Regions from separate parts of the Homo sapiens genome. Here region 2 is linked to region 1. The links are contacts of gene promoters, found by promoter capture Hi-C in human tissues and cell types (Jung and others, 2019). All regions are on one chromosome and are shown on one strand. Each heading gives the region's core, a stretch centred on a gene start or on the middle of the fragment in contact. The rest is flanking DNA. Distances are from core to core; before and after follow the strand shown.

Region 1 (6,258 bases), core at 2,319-4,818:
GACCTTGGGCAAGTTGGCCTGTCCCAAAGTGTCAACAGTTAAATAAATGGATTGGAAAAGAGGGGAACTGTTTTATCCTACAGAATTCCCTGTTTGTGGGGGAGGGGAGAGAGGTGGAGGAGAGAGATTACAGGAGAAATTCCTCCCCTGCAGTGGTACTTTCACTTTAATGAGAAAACCCATTAAGACACTTGATTTTCCATTTGTTTAAGTGAGATGGGTGTTTGCTACAGTGAGTGCAGAGGGAGACAAGGACAGGCTATCATTGTGTGTGCACAGGCGCATGCACGCGAGCACACACACACACACACACACACACACACACACACACCAAGCAGAGACACTACAAAAACTCTGATTTTAATTGCACCTTAAAAAGAAGTATTATCTTGACACCTCGACTCCTTCTCAACCATCCCAGCCAGAGGCCATGGAAAGGCTCATTAAAAGCTCCAGGAAGGGCTGAAAGGTGGGGTGGGAGGAGATTTCCAGGGCCAACCAGAGCTTTTGAAGTGGCCTTTTCTGGCTAGTCACTTGCTGACATTACCTTCTAAGGGTCTGGGGTTTTATGGTTCCAGTTTTGATTTCTCCAGCATCAGACTTTACAGCTTAAAAATATTCTCAGTGCTGTAAAGGGAGCTCATTCCCATATTCACCAGGGATGGGGTGGGGTGGGGAAAAGGAGAGAGAGGTGCCTGCCACTTGAGGGGAGCTTGGACACCCCCAGTAAAGATCCCTCTTTGCAGAGAGAGCCTCGCCTGCCTCAGTCTGTTATGAGTCTCATGGCAGAGGGGTGGGTGGATAAGAATAGGAGGGAGGGTCTGCTGGGCTTGAATCAGTCTGGCTATTGGACAGGAGCCCTTCACATGTCTTCAATCTGTGGCCAAGTGAAGGCAAGATTTGGAGAAAGCCAACACTCTGGCCTTGATTTTCCCCATCAGTGAAATGGAGCTTGTGAAGGATCCAATGGAAAAACCCAAAGAACATTCTGAAAGAATGATGCTCTGTGCCTGTGGCATTAGAGAAAAACAAGATTGTGTGGGAGGAAGGGACATGTTCTCCCTCCTGAAGGCAGGTTTCTAAGGGCCACACATTCTGGGCAATGAGAAGGCTGCAGGCCGACCCCACCAGTTGGCCCCTCTCCAGGCTGGTGGGCAGGCAGCTACTGCCGCACTAAGTAATGAGCACAATTCCAACACCGCTTCTGCTCGCTGGTGAGAAATCAAAGCCGGGTATTAGAGGCCATTTCTGACTGGGCACCATTCGTGCCCAAATCCATCAAAGCCCTGGGCCTGGGGTTTCTTCTGGGGAAGGTGGGGGCTGGATGCTTTGTTAAGCAGGAAATGCAGGCCACCCCCAGCCTTCTTGGCCAAGCCCACCCACCCAGAGAACTATAGGCCAACCAGTCTTGTCTTTCTCCTACAGCAGCCCCTCATTCCTGGTAACCTAAGTATTTATTCCTGATCCCACTGTCCTGCTGGTACAAAAGCAGCTTCCCAAGACACAACCCTGCCCATGTGCCATTTACAGAGACTTCACCCTACCCTTCAATCATCTCCTCAAACCCCCTCCAACCAGAAACCAGCACCCCAACCAAGCACCTCCCACGTCTAACTGCACCCTTTAAAACAAGGTTGGACATTCAGCAGCCTGCCTTCCCCATCCCCATCATTACCTTCCAACTTCAAAACACTGCTTTAAATACCAGAGTCTGCCCAAATCATAATTAACTTGGATCAAATGGTTGAGTGTTGTAACTCTACTGCACAGGACTTGCACCAGAAAAAAAAAAAAAAGTGGGGAATGTGCTAAAGCCAAGCCCTCACTCCTGGCCGTGGGAATCACTAATTCCAGAATGAGGAATCTTTGGCTATGGAGGGGGGAAGGGCGGATGTCAACTTCGCAGCAGGAGGTAGGAGGTGGGGAGGGCTGCGTCATCTCGTCCACTTTCTGCTCCAGTTTTCCTGCTCCATTCTCAGCCTCAACTCAGAGAGGACTCCGTGCAGGAGGCCCCGTCCCCACCTGGCTCCGGAGCCGAGCCGCCCGGCAGCCGTGGCCAGCCCACTTGCTTGGGTTCGGGTACCAGAGAGAGGCTGGCTCCATTCAGTCCACAGCCTCCCCGAGAAGACGCAGCCCAGCCAGCGACGCCGGGTCCAGCTACAGGACGAGCGAGAAACGTATTCATCCACGGCGAGAGAGGAGGGTTAGGGACTTTATTTCGGAGCCCACCAGTTCGCTGAAGTCATCTTGGTGGGTCCAGAGCGGGCGCTGTACCAAGGAGAGCGCACCTAGTCTGTTCCCCGGACAGCGAGAATGTCAGTGACCAATTTAAAAGGAAACTCCGCAGGATCGCTAAGAACCCCTACCCGCATCCAACACACACACACACACACACACACACACACACACTCTCCAACACTCAGAAAATTAATAATAATAATAATAATAATAATAATAATAATTCTTCCAGACCTGCGGGCCCAGCGATCTCGGGGAAAGCTATGTGTGCAAGACTTAGCCCTCCCCGCTTCAGGAGCCCTGCAAGCCGGCCTGCCGAGGCTACCGAAGCGCTTCCTGTGTTCAGCAGGTCTTTTCGCTCTCTCCCTCTAGTCTGCAGATTGCTGTCCCTATAGCGCGTAAGAGCCTAGGCGAGCCGGGACCAGACTAGTAAGTTACCGGCGTACGGCAGCGAGCGCACACCTTGCTTATGTAGCCAATGTTCTTTTTCGGGGCGGATGCCAGGCGCGCGGAGAGCCGGGCGTCCCCAGGAGGCGGATCCTCCCGGAGACTCAGACCCTGACTCCTACACCCCTTCCAGGGAGAAGAAGGGATCCCTTTCAGGAGCGAGCAGGGACCTTTCAGCTTACTGTGAAGCCCCTTCCCTGCTCCCCGCTCCCGCGATGTGGATGCGCCATTGCCCACTTTGGGAGGCAGTAAAATCTACATTCTAACTTGGGCGCCCTTGCCGCTTTTCCTGCGCGCATCGATGCGACGAAAGACCACCTCAACTTCAGGACAGAGTGAGGCGCAAGGGTCCCCTAGCCCCGCGCCCCCAGACCCGATCGCTTCCTACCTGCTTGGCTCAGCCTCGGGTCCCAGCAGAGCAGCAGTGCCAGCAGCAGCGCGCCCCGAGCTCCGCTCCGGGCCCCCATGCTCCCGCGGCCTGGTTCGGGCGCCTCTCCCCCAGGGCTGTCTCCCTGGCCCCAGTCTCGCCGCCGCCGTCTCCGCCGCCGCCGCCTCCTCCTCGCCGTCCTCCCCGGCGCCCGGCAGCGCCAGCCCGTGCCTTCCGTGGGGGCAGCGGAAGCCACGCTGCGCGGAGGGCCGCCTGGCACTCGGAGCGCGGTGGGTGCCTGGCGCCGGCTCTCGAACGAGGCTCCGGCGCGCCCCTCTGGCTCCGGGTCTCTGAGCGCTCGCCTGGCTCCGGCGCTGTGCCTCCGAAGTTGCGCGACCGCTCAGTGGCGCTCGCAGCGGCGGCGCCGCGCAGTCCCAGCCCCAGTGCGCGCCTCTCGGAGCCCCGCGGCTGCGTGCGGCTCCGGCGCCCTAGCCGGCCCCAGCCGCCTGCCACAATGCCGAGCGCCGCCGCTCGCTCGCCGGAGTGAGTTCGCCAACCGAGGGGACCGCGCGCGGCCGGGGCGGGGCCTGGGCGACCGAGGGCGGAGCCGACAGGGGGACCTTGAGGGGGGATCCGACGGCCATCTGGGCGCGGCCGCGGCAGAGCTGGGGGACCCGGGGGGAGGGTCCTCGCGAGACGCTGGGCGCAGCGTTTTGAAAAACCCGGCCGCTGGAGAATGGCTGGACGTGGAGGCGGCCCAATTTTCGCTCCCCCAAATTAAGGAAATCTGGCTTTGCGCCTTCATTTGGCTTGGCCATGTCAGCTTTCTCCTCTGATTAAACATAGGACTCTCACTTTTGGCTCCCCTGTCTGTAGTATGCGCTCTGCCTTCCACATGTGGGGGTCTTTCCAAAAAAAAGGCTCCCAAAATGAGAACACCCAAGTCCTGGTTACGCGGGGGCTTACAGCGATATGAAGCTGGGTATAGATTAGGATCATCCTGGCTGGCTCTGCTTGTCTGTATGATCTCCGGCAGAACTGTTAACCAGACCCCTGGAAACCCCTCCAGCACTCTGATCCTGCGTTGTTGTAAACTAGCCTCCTACCTGACAGTGGGACAGCCATTTTTGGCTCAGTGTAAACTTGGACTCTGCCCCTTATTTACTGTGTGACCTTGAACAAGTTACTTAACAATTCTATTGCTCCCTTCATCATCATCTGTAAAATGGAGGAAAAGGATAACTATTTCATAAGGGGGTATAGAATTAAATTTTAAAACTTGTGTGGAAATTGCAGTGCAAGTGTCAATAATCTCTTTCCAAGATTCTCCCCTCCCAGCCAGTCTGATTCCAGGGGGAAAGTCCTGACCACCCAAAGGTGGTCCAAGGAGCACGTGGGGACAGGTGAGGTTTGAAGGATGGGCAGTGTCTTGGGATTGAAACCCAGAGAGATCAGAACGAGCGGATCAGCTAACATAGGCAAAGACCTTCCCTGTGCCAGGCACAGGGCTAAGCACTCTGTATGCATCATGTCAGTTAATTCTCACAACCCTCTGAAGTAAGCACCATTTACATCCCATTTTACAGATGAAGGACCTGAGGCACAGAGGTGTAAAGCCACCTGCCGGAGATCACACTGCTTGGAGTGACTGAGTGACTGAGCAAAGGGGATGGGGGAGATGGGATTGGAAAGAAACCCTCTAAACGGGGGAGCCTCACTTGAACACCTTCCCTGGGGCTGGATTGGGCTGTGCGAAGGGGACTGTCCTAGCTGTTTCCCCAGAGGTGAGGTGAAGGCAGGACTAGTACCCTCTCCACACACACTCCCCTCACAAGCCGGGGTCTTGGAGTATCTAGGGGAGGTCGTGCATGCCATCAGCACATCTCCCTAACCCTCTCTGACTGGGCACCCAGCATCAGGAGGGTGGCAACAGGTGGACTGGGACTCCCTGGGGGAAGAACTTCCATCAATTGAGAAAGGCTGCTGTGGGCAAAGGTAGGTTGCTTAGCTTGGCCTCTGACAGCCCTAGCAAGGGCAGTGGATGAGACAGTCAACAGCTCAGCACACCCAAACCAACTCCACCTTGCAAATACACATGCACACACACAACTACCCACCCATACACACCTGCAAAGGTACACACACGAAAACATACAACAAAGACAACAGGTGCAATGTTTCACCTCCCATAAACATCACACCTACAAATAGGCACCCGACTCCAGAGACACCCACATACCAAAGATGTATGCCTAAAAAAAGCAAACACACAGGCGCACACAACTAAAAACACAAATAGGCAGATGACTCCCAAGACAAATAGATATTTGGATACTTAACTACTGCCAGGAAACACATACAGGCACGCCTGTGCCAAGACCCACATCTGACGGTCATCCCCTGGATGCAGGCACATGGTCAAGGTTGTGCCTGTGCTGGAGAGCTCAGCAGGGACCTCAGCAGAGACGGGCAGCATGCAGAGACCACAGCATGTTCTCTCTCTCTCCCCAACCTCTTTCTCTCTCTCCTTCAGGCCAGTGGGGTATTGGAGATTTTTCTAAAAAGTTCCACCCCTTGGAACTTTGCTGTTTAGGTGGTAAAGTGTACCCAGCAGGCCCTTCTAGTCCAAGTATCAGGTTTCACGGCTTTAATTCCTGGGTGGAGAGAAGGGGGACTGGAGATGGGGGCAAGCAAAAGGAAGACATTACCCCCTCTCCTGCCAGTCCCTGCCCCACTTCCCTTCTCAGCCTAACCACTCTCTCAACTCTTGAAATATACTCTTGGGAGGTCCCGGGCCCTGCTCTCCCTCCAGGACTCCAGCATCAGGGCATGGGATTTTGCATGTTGGGAATCTCTCTGTAACTGCTCTGTGCCCCTGCTCCTGTACCAAGTCTCTGAGCCTTCTCTAGCCACCTGCAGCTGAGCAGTTGCAGATGTGGTTCCTCTCCAGCCCTGGCATCTCAAGAGTGCAGGCTGTCAGTTGAGGCCAGGCAAGGGGCTTCAGAGGGAGTCAGACTCCCCCTGAGCCATACCTTTCCCCGGGATGGGTGAAGAATGGGCAGGGTCCCTGCCTGGGGGATGACACATTAGGATAGCAGGATTAAGATTTGCCAGGGTGTTCCCAAACCGAGTGCCATGGGCCTCACAGCAAAGGCATCCTGCTGGGAGTTAAGCATGAGGACGAAGCAGTGAGTTGCTTGAAGTCA
Region 2 (6,065 bases), core at 2,321-4,820, 430 kb after region 1:
ATGATACCCAAACCAGAGGAAGATACTACAAAAAGGAAACTACAGATAAATATTCATCATAAATATAGGTGCAATAATCCTTAACAAAATATTTTCAAGTAGAATCCAGCAATATATAAAAAGAATTGTACACCATGACCAAGTGGGGCTTATTCCAGGGATAAAAAGCTAGTTCAATATTTGAAAAATCAATGTACTGACCAGCAAAAGAAGAAAAATCACAAGATCATATTAGTTGATGCAGAAAAAAAGCATTTGATAAAATTCAACACACATTTATGACAAAAATGCTCAGAAAAATAGGAAGAGAGAGGGACTTCTTTAACCTGATAAAGAGTATATATAAAAAACCTACAGCTGACATTATATTTAATGGTTAAAGACTCTGTGTTTACTTCCTAAGATTAGGAACAAGGTAAGGATGTGCACTCTCACCACTGTTATTCAACTTAGTATTGGAAATTCTAGGCAGTGCAGTAAGACAAGAGAAGAGAAGAGAAGAGAAGAAAAAGCATATATATGGGAAAGAAAGAAAGAAAGAAAACTGTCCCTATTTGCAGATGATATTATTACCTATGTAGAAAATTCCAGGGAATCTACAACATATCTCCAGAAACTAATAAGTGAGTTCAGCAAGGTTGCAGGATACAAACTAACATACCAAATTAATAGTGTTTCTATATACTAGCAATGCATATATGGACACCAAAATTTAAAATACCATACCATTTACAGTTCCTTTAAAAACAAAAACTGAAATAGGTGAAAATCTAACAAAACATGTCCACGGCTTTTATGCTGAAAACTATAAAATGCTGATTAAAGTAATCAAAGAATATTTAAATAAATGGAGAGATATACTATGTTCATGGACTGGAAGACTCAACATGGTAAAGATGTCCATTCTCCCCAAATTGATACAGAAGTTTAACCTGATTCCTATAAAAATCTAAACAAAAATGTTTGTAGATATCAATAAGATTATTCTAAAATTTGTATGGAAAGGCAAAGGAACTAGAATATCCAAGACACTCTTAAAAAAACAAAGCTGGAAGTCTTATACCACTTATATAGACATCAAGATGTATTTAAAGTTACAGTAATTAAGAGAATATAGTGTTGGTGCATTGGTAGACAGAAAGTCCAGAGACAGACCCACACATATACGGATACTTGAATTTTGTTAAAGATGGTACTGCAGAGATAAGGACAATGTTTTAAGTAATGGTACTGGGTCGAATGGATATTTATATGGAAAAAATATATATAAATTTTGACCCCTATCTTACACCAAACACAAAAATCAATTCCGTATTGATTGTAGATCTAAACATGAACAGCAAAACAGTAAATCTTCAGAAAATAATAATGAGAATTATCTTCATAACCTTGGGTAGGCAAAAATCTCTTAAAACACAAAACCCACTAACCATTAAGGACAAAATTGATAAACTGGGTTATGTTAAAATTAGGAATTCTCTTTATCAAAAGACTGCATATAGACACAGACAAGCAAGACACAAAGGAGAGAATATATTTGCAACACAAATAACTAAAGATTTATCTGATCATTAATTTCTCCATCTATAGGATTACATGAGGTAATATATCTAAGAGGTTGGCACAGTGCCTGGCACATAGAAAGTGTTCCATGAAGTTTCTATTGCCTCTGTTATGACTGAGTCATCCAGGCCAAGGACTGTACCTCAAATCACTCTCAGGCTGACAGATCTCTCTACAGTTTTTGACACTCCACAAAGGAGTCAGAAGAGTTTCCTCAGTTCTTCTTTTACAAACCAGTGTTGAAGACATTTCCTGAGGAACCCCTTCATCCCCCCAGCTGCAGTCCCTATGCAGACCCCCATGCTCGATTGTAAATAACATAGTTGAAGCATTACAAGGCACCAGTGGGGAGGATGAGAGTGGGTTTTCATCTCAGCTGAGTCAGCTCGCGTGGTGGGAAATGCCACAAGAGTGCTGAAAGCAGGAGGGAGGAGTGGCTTGTCACGGGGAAGAAAGCCTCTCTTCTCCCAAATGCTATATCATCTATCTTCACAGCTGCCAGGATGCCCAGAAGTATGGAAGAGGGGGTTTTCAGTATGATTTCAAAAGAGTCACCGTATTCCTGCAGAGACAGGCCCAGAAAAAGCCAGGGAACATCCTGACCTGCCGAAGGATGGGTGGGCATTTGGAGTAGGCCAAGACCAGAGGACAGCCCTCAGGGGGCCACCAGAGTGGTATGAATCCCCACCCCTTAGCTGGGAGGGGCAGAACTTTTGAAGGACTTGGGTTTGCCTCTAGCTACCCACCTTCCTTTTCTTGCTCCCCAGAGAAAAGACACAGAGTCTGGAAGCCCCAGGGCACCAGTATGAAGCCAGGGGTGCTGAGAGCAAAGGCCCTGGGAAAAGCCCACCTCATCATTCTGAGGGACAGCACCCGGCACTGTCTGCAAGCCTTCCCATAGTTTACAGAGCCTGTCTGCACCCCTCCCGGGATCTGATTGAGTTACAGCCCTGTCGGCTAAGAACTATCCTTACCCCCATTTGACAGGTGTCCAAGTTGAGCCTCAGAGAAATAGTGAACTACCTAAGATAGTTCTCAGACAAAGGACTCATCCTACTACCTCCATCAAGTTACCAATAATAATGATGATTATTATCCTTTTTGAGCATCTCTTGTGTGCCAGACATACAACTAAAGGCTTCACTTCCATTAGCTTGTCTTCAGAACAACCACAGAAGTAGGTGAGGATATCCCATTTTATAGACCCAGAGAAGGCAATAATAGTAAGAAATTATACTTGGGGGCAGATACTGTTTGAAACGCTTTAATATATATCAACTCACTTAATATTCTCAAACATCCTGTGAGAATAAGTGCAGTATCATCATCTCCATTTTAGAGATATGGGAACTAAGGCTCAGAGAAGGCAGGTGCATTGTCTGAGGCCACACAACTAGGAAGTAGCAGAATAGGGACTCGAAGCAAGGATTCTTCCCACTATTTTGCATCTGTGGCAGTCCCGGTGACTTACCCAAGGTAACGTGTCTATGGGATGTTGAAATCTGATTAAAACACCTGTCCAAATGCAAGCCCAGAATCTTCCCACCCAGCTGTCATGCAGAGAGAGGGGCTGGGGTCCCTCTGGGTAATGCGGGCTGCCATCTTCTCTCCTTCCAAGACCCACCTCCCTGAGAATGGGTCCCCAGAACCAAGATGCATGGAAGCCGACCCCTGTGTGGTGGGGTCAGGCCAGGTGGGGCTGACGAAGCTGGGACGCAGCCCACCAACGTCCTCTGCCAGCGTTCCGCCTCCATCCGCTTCTCTCTGGCTAAAACCAGCCCCAGACTCTCCTTCTCTCCCTTGGCCCCCATTGAAAGTGTTGGATGGGAGGCAGCAGGGAAGTCAGGAGGGACAGAAGGTCCTTAGCCCTTGTCTACCCTTCCAGGAGGGGGAGATAGGCAGGGGATGTGGTAGAGGGGTGCTGGGCAGAGGTTCTGGAGTTGTGGGAACAGGGTAACCTAGCAACCACTGGGCTCAGTGTCACAAAGCAGGCAGACTTGCCCACAGAACCCACAGCCTTCCCCTCGATTTGTCCTCTTGCTCCTTCCTGCTAGGACAGCAGGGCTTCTCGTACACATGCTGTAGCGGGCACTGCCTTGGTGAGTCCAGGGACCTCTCGGGAGAGGAGATGGACCCTGGACAGCCCAGAAGGGCAGAGGTAGAAAGGGAAGTTTTGTGGCTGGATTGATGGGAGCCCTCAGACCCCTCTGCCTGGCTGGCTGGGGCCCCAGGGACAGAGAGCAGGGGCAGGGCAGGGCAGACTACACTGGGGTCCCACCTGTCCCGCTCTGGACAAGGCAGGCTTGGCCTACTAGAGTCCCTGTCAGCCTCTCTACAGCCGCTGTGGGTTATGACCCCCTGGTGGCTTATTAGATCAATTTAAATGGATCATATCTAACATTTAAGAAATAAAAACCAAAAATAGGGTAAAAATATCAGTGTGCATCATATGTAGTACGGATAAATATTGCTTCAGGATATTATTGTTTTAGTTTCACACACACACACAAACCCATATGTGAATTGGATCATGACATAAAGAATTTCTTACCGTCATCACAGCCAAACACATTTGCAAGTCTCTGTTCTAAAGAGTACTTTTTCCCATAGGCAGGAGGATTTGGGGCTTCCACATATCCTGTTCTCAAGATTGTAGCATCTCAGTACTCTAGAGCCCAGTACCTGACATCAAGGATGTCTGGAGCTTCCTTTTAAGGAAAGAAAAGATCAGCAAACTGTGAGTCAGACTGCCCGGGCTCTGGTTCCTTCTGTGTGACCTCAGCAAATCTCCCCTGCTTCCCTGATCTCAGACAACTCCAACCCATCCCACTACCTGATGAAGGCTGGCATTGGGAGATCTCTGGGGTCCCTTGCAGATTCTGTGACTCTGAGGGTTAATTCTCAGAATGCACTGATGTCCTGTCCCAACCCCATCCCTAGCACTTTGGCTAGATATATATATTCAGGTCCATAGATTTAATCATAATTCTTGGTTTTGACACCTATCATCTTTCATCTATGCCATTTAATTAGTTTATTTAATAATATAATAAACACAAGCAAATACACCACCCAAACCAAGAACAAGAACATCATCACTAACACATCTCCTTATATGCGCTTCTCCTGCACACTTCCCCTCCCCGCCTTCCCTCGGAAATAGCCACTATGTGAATTTCGTGCTTAGCATTTCCTTGTTTGATGCTGTTGTTGCTGTTTTATCGCATGTTCATGATCATTTTGCTTGCTTTTAAACTTTTATTTTTAGAAAGGATCTCAGGCTATGTGGTCCTCTGGAACTTGTGGTCCTCTGGAACACACATAAACTAAACCATTTATGAAAGAAAAATAATATGTTTTTAAACAACATTTATACTGTTTAGTAGTTATTTTATATTATCCACACATTATATATAGTGGATGACAACAATTGTATTGTTTCAAATGCATATATCTTGTTCTACTGCAGCCTATTTAATAGTAATTAATAAAAAGTAAATTGAGTTAATAAGATTGCATAAATATAACATCGCAAAACCAAGAATTGTTAAGTTTTCTCATACTGATTATAAGATTCATCCATGTTGTTACATGTAGCTGTGGCTCATTTATTTTCATAGCAATAAAGTATCCCATTGTCTGAATGCACCACAGCTTATTTATCCATTCTTCTGCCATCAGACATTTGGGTTGCCACCAGGTTTTTGCTATTTTGAACAGTGTTTGTATGAATATTCTTATAAGTAGCCCCTGTTGTACATCTATAAGAATTTCTCTTATATCTGGGAAAGAAATTGCTGGGTGATACAGCATGCAAATGCTCAATTTTAAAAGATATTACCATTTCTCCCCCTAAAGTGCCTGTTCCCGTTTACACTTCCACCACCAGTTCGTGAGAGTTCCTGTTCTGCATCCTCAACACTAGTATTAAGTGAGAGTTCCTGTTCTGCATCCTCAACGCTAGTATTAAGTGCACTGGCCTTTAGTCTGTTAAAAAGCATACAATGGCTACAGATGTTCAATTGGCTGATTATCCACTGATGAGGTGAGGCTCCAAATGCCCACCCTGCTGACTGAGGAGGGCTTGGGGTAGGGCAGGGTAGAAGACAAAGGTGGCCTTGGGGGATCTCAACAGATTAGGAGTCCAAGAGAGGTGGTTCTTACTGGACTTCTGCTGCCGGTCAGCCAGACCCCCCAATGGGTCCTCAGGCTCAAGTTAGCCCAGGTAGTGGGCTTTGCCCCTCCTGGGCAGGGAAAAGACTTGAGCGGGTGCCAGAAGCACTGAGCAAAGGAGTTCCAGGGGTTCTCAGGAGGTGACTTCCTCTGTTACTTGGGGGTAGAAGAGGACAGCTAACTGCAACTTTCAGAGAAGGTTTGCTTTATTTCTTTAAGCCCCAGATCCCTTAGAGGCGAATGGAGAATGGAACAGGAAACTCAGGGGCCAAGTCAGTGGAGTCCTCAGAGGGTCCGGGGGCGGCACGCCTTGCTTAGCACATCCAGAG

Evidence for each region. Contacts are between HindIII fragments. The study calls those that stand out against the background at their distance.
Region 2: a contact is called between the fragment with the promoter of TBATA here and the fragment with the promoter of UNC5B in region 1, in 1 of the 25 tissues and cell types used here (mesenchymal stem cells).

The regions. Positions count from the first base shown.
Region 1 is chr10:71,209,880-71,216,137 of GRCh38, reverse strand. It overlaps UNC5B (unc-5 netrin receptor B), which reads right to left and starts at 3,568. Exons shown (of 17, transcript NM_170744.5): 1 at 3,074-3,568. The coding sequence starts at 3,152. RefSeq lists enhancers at 1-541, 3,512-3,806 and a silencer at 3,408-3,667. The HindIII fragment of the contact is 13,648 bases long and covers 1-6,258 here.
Region 2 is chr10:70,782,882-70,788,946 of GRCh38, reverse strand. TBATA (thymus, brain and testes associated) reads left to right here and starts at 3,570. Exons shown (of 11, transcript NM_001318241.2): 1 at 3,570-3,662; 2 at 4,174-4,300; 3 at 5,422-5,608. The coding sequence starts at 5,568. The HindIII fragment of the contact is 18,774 bases long and covers 1-6,065 here.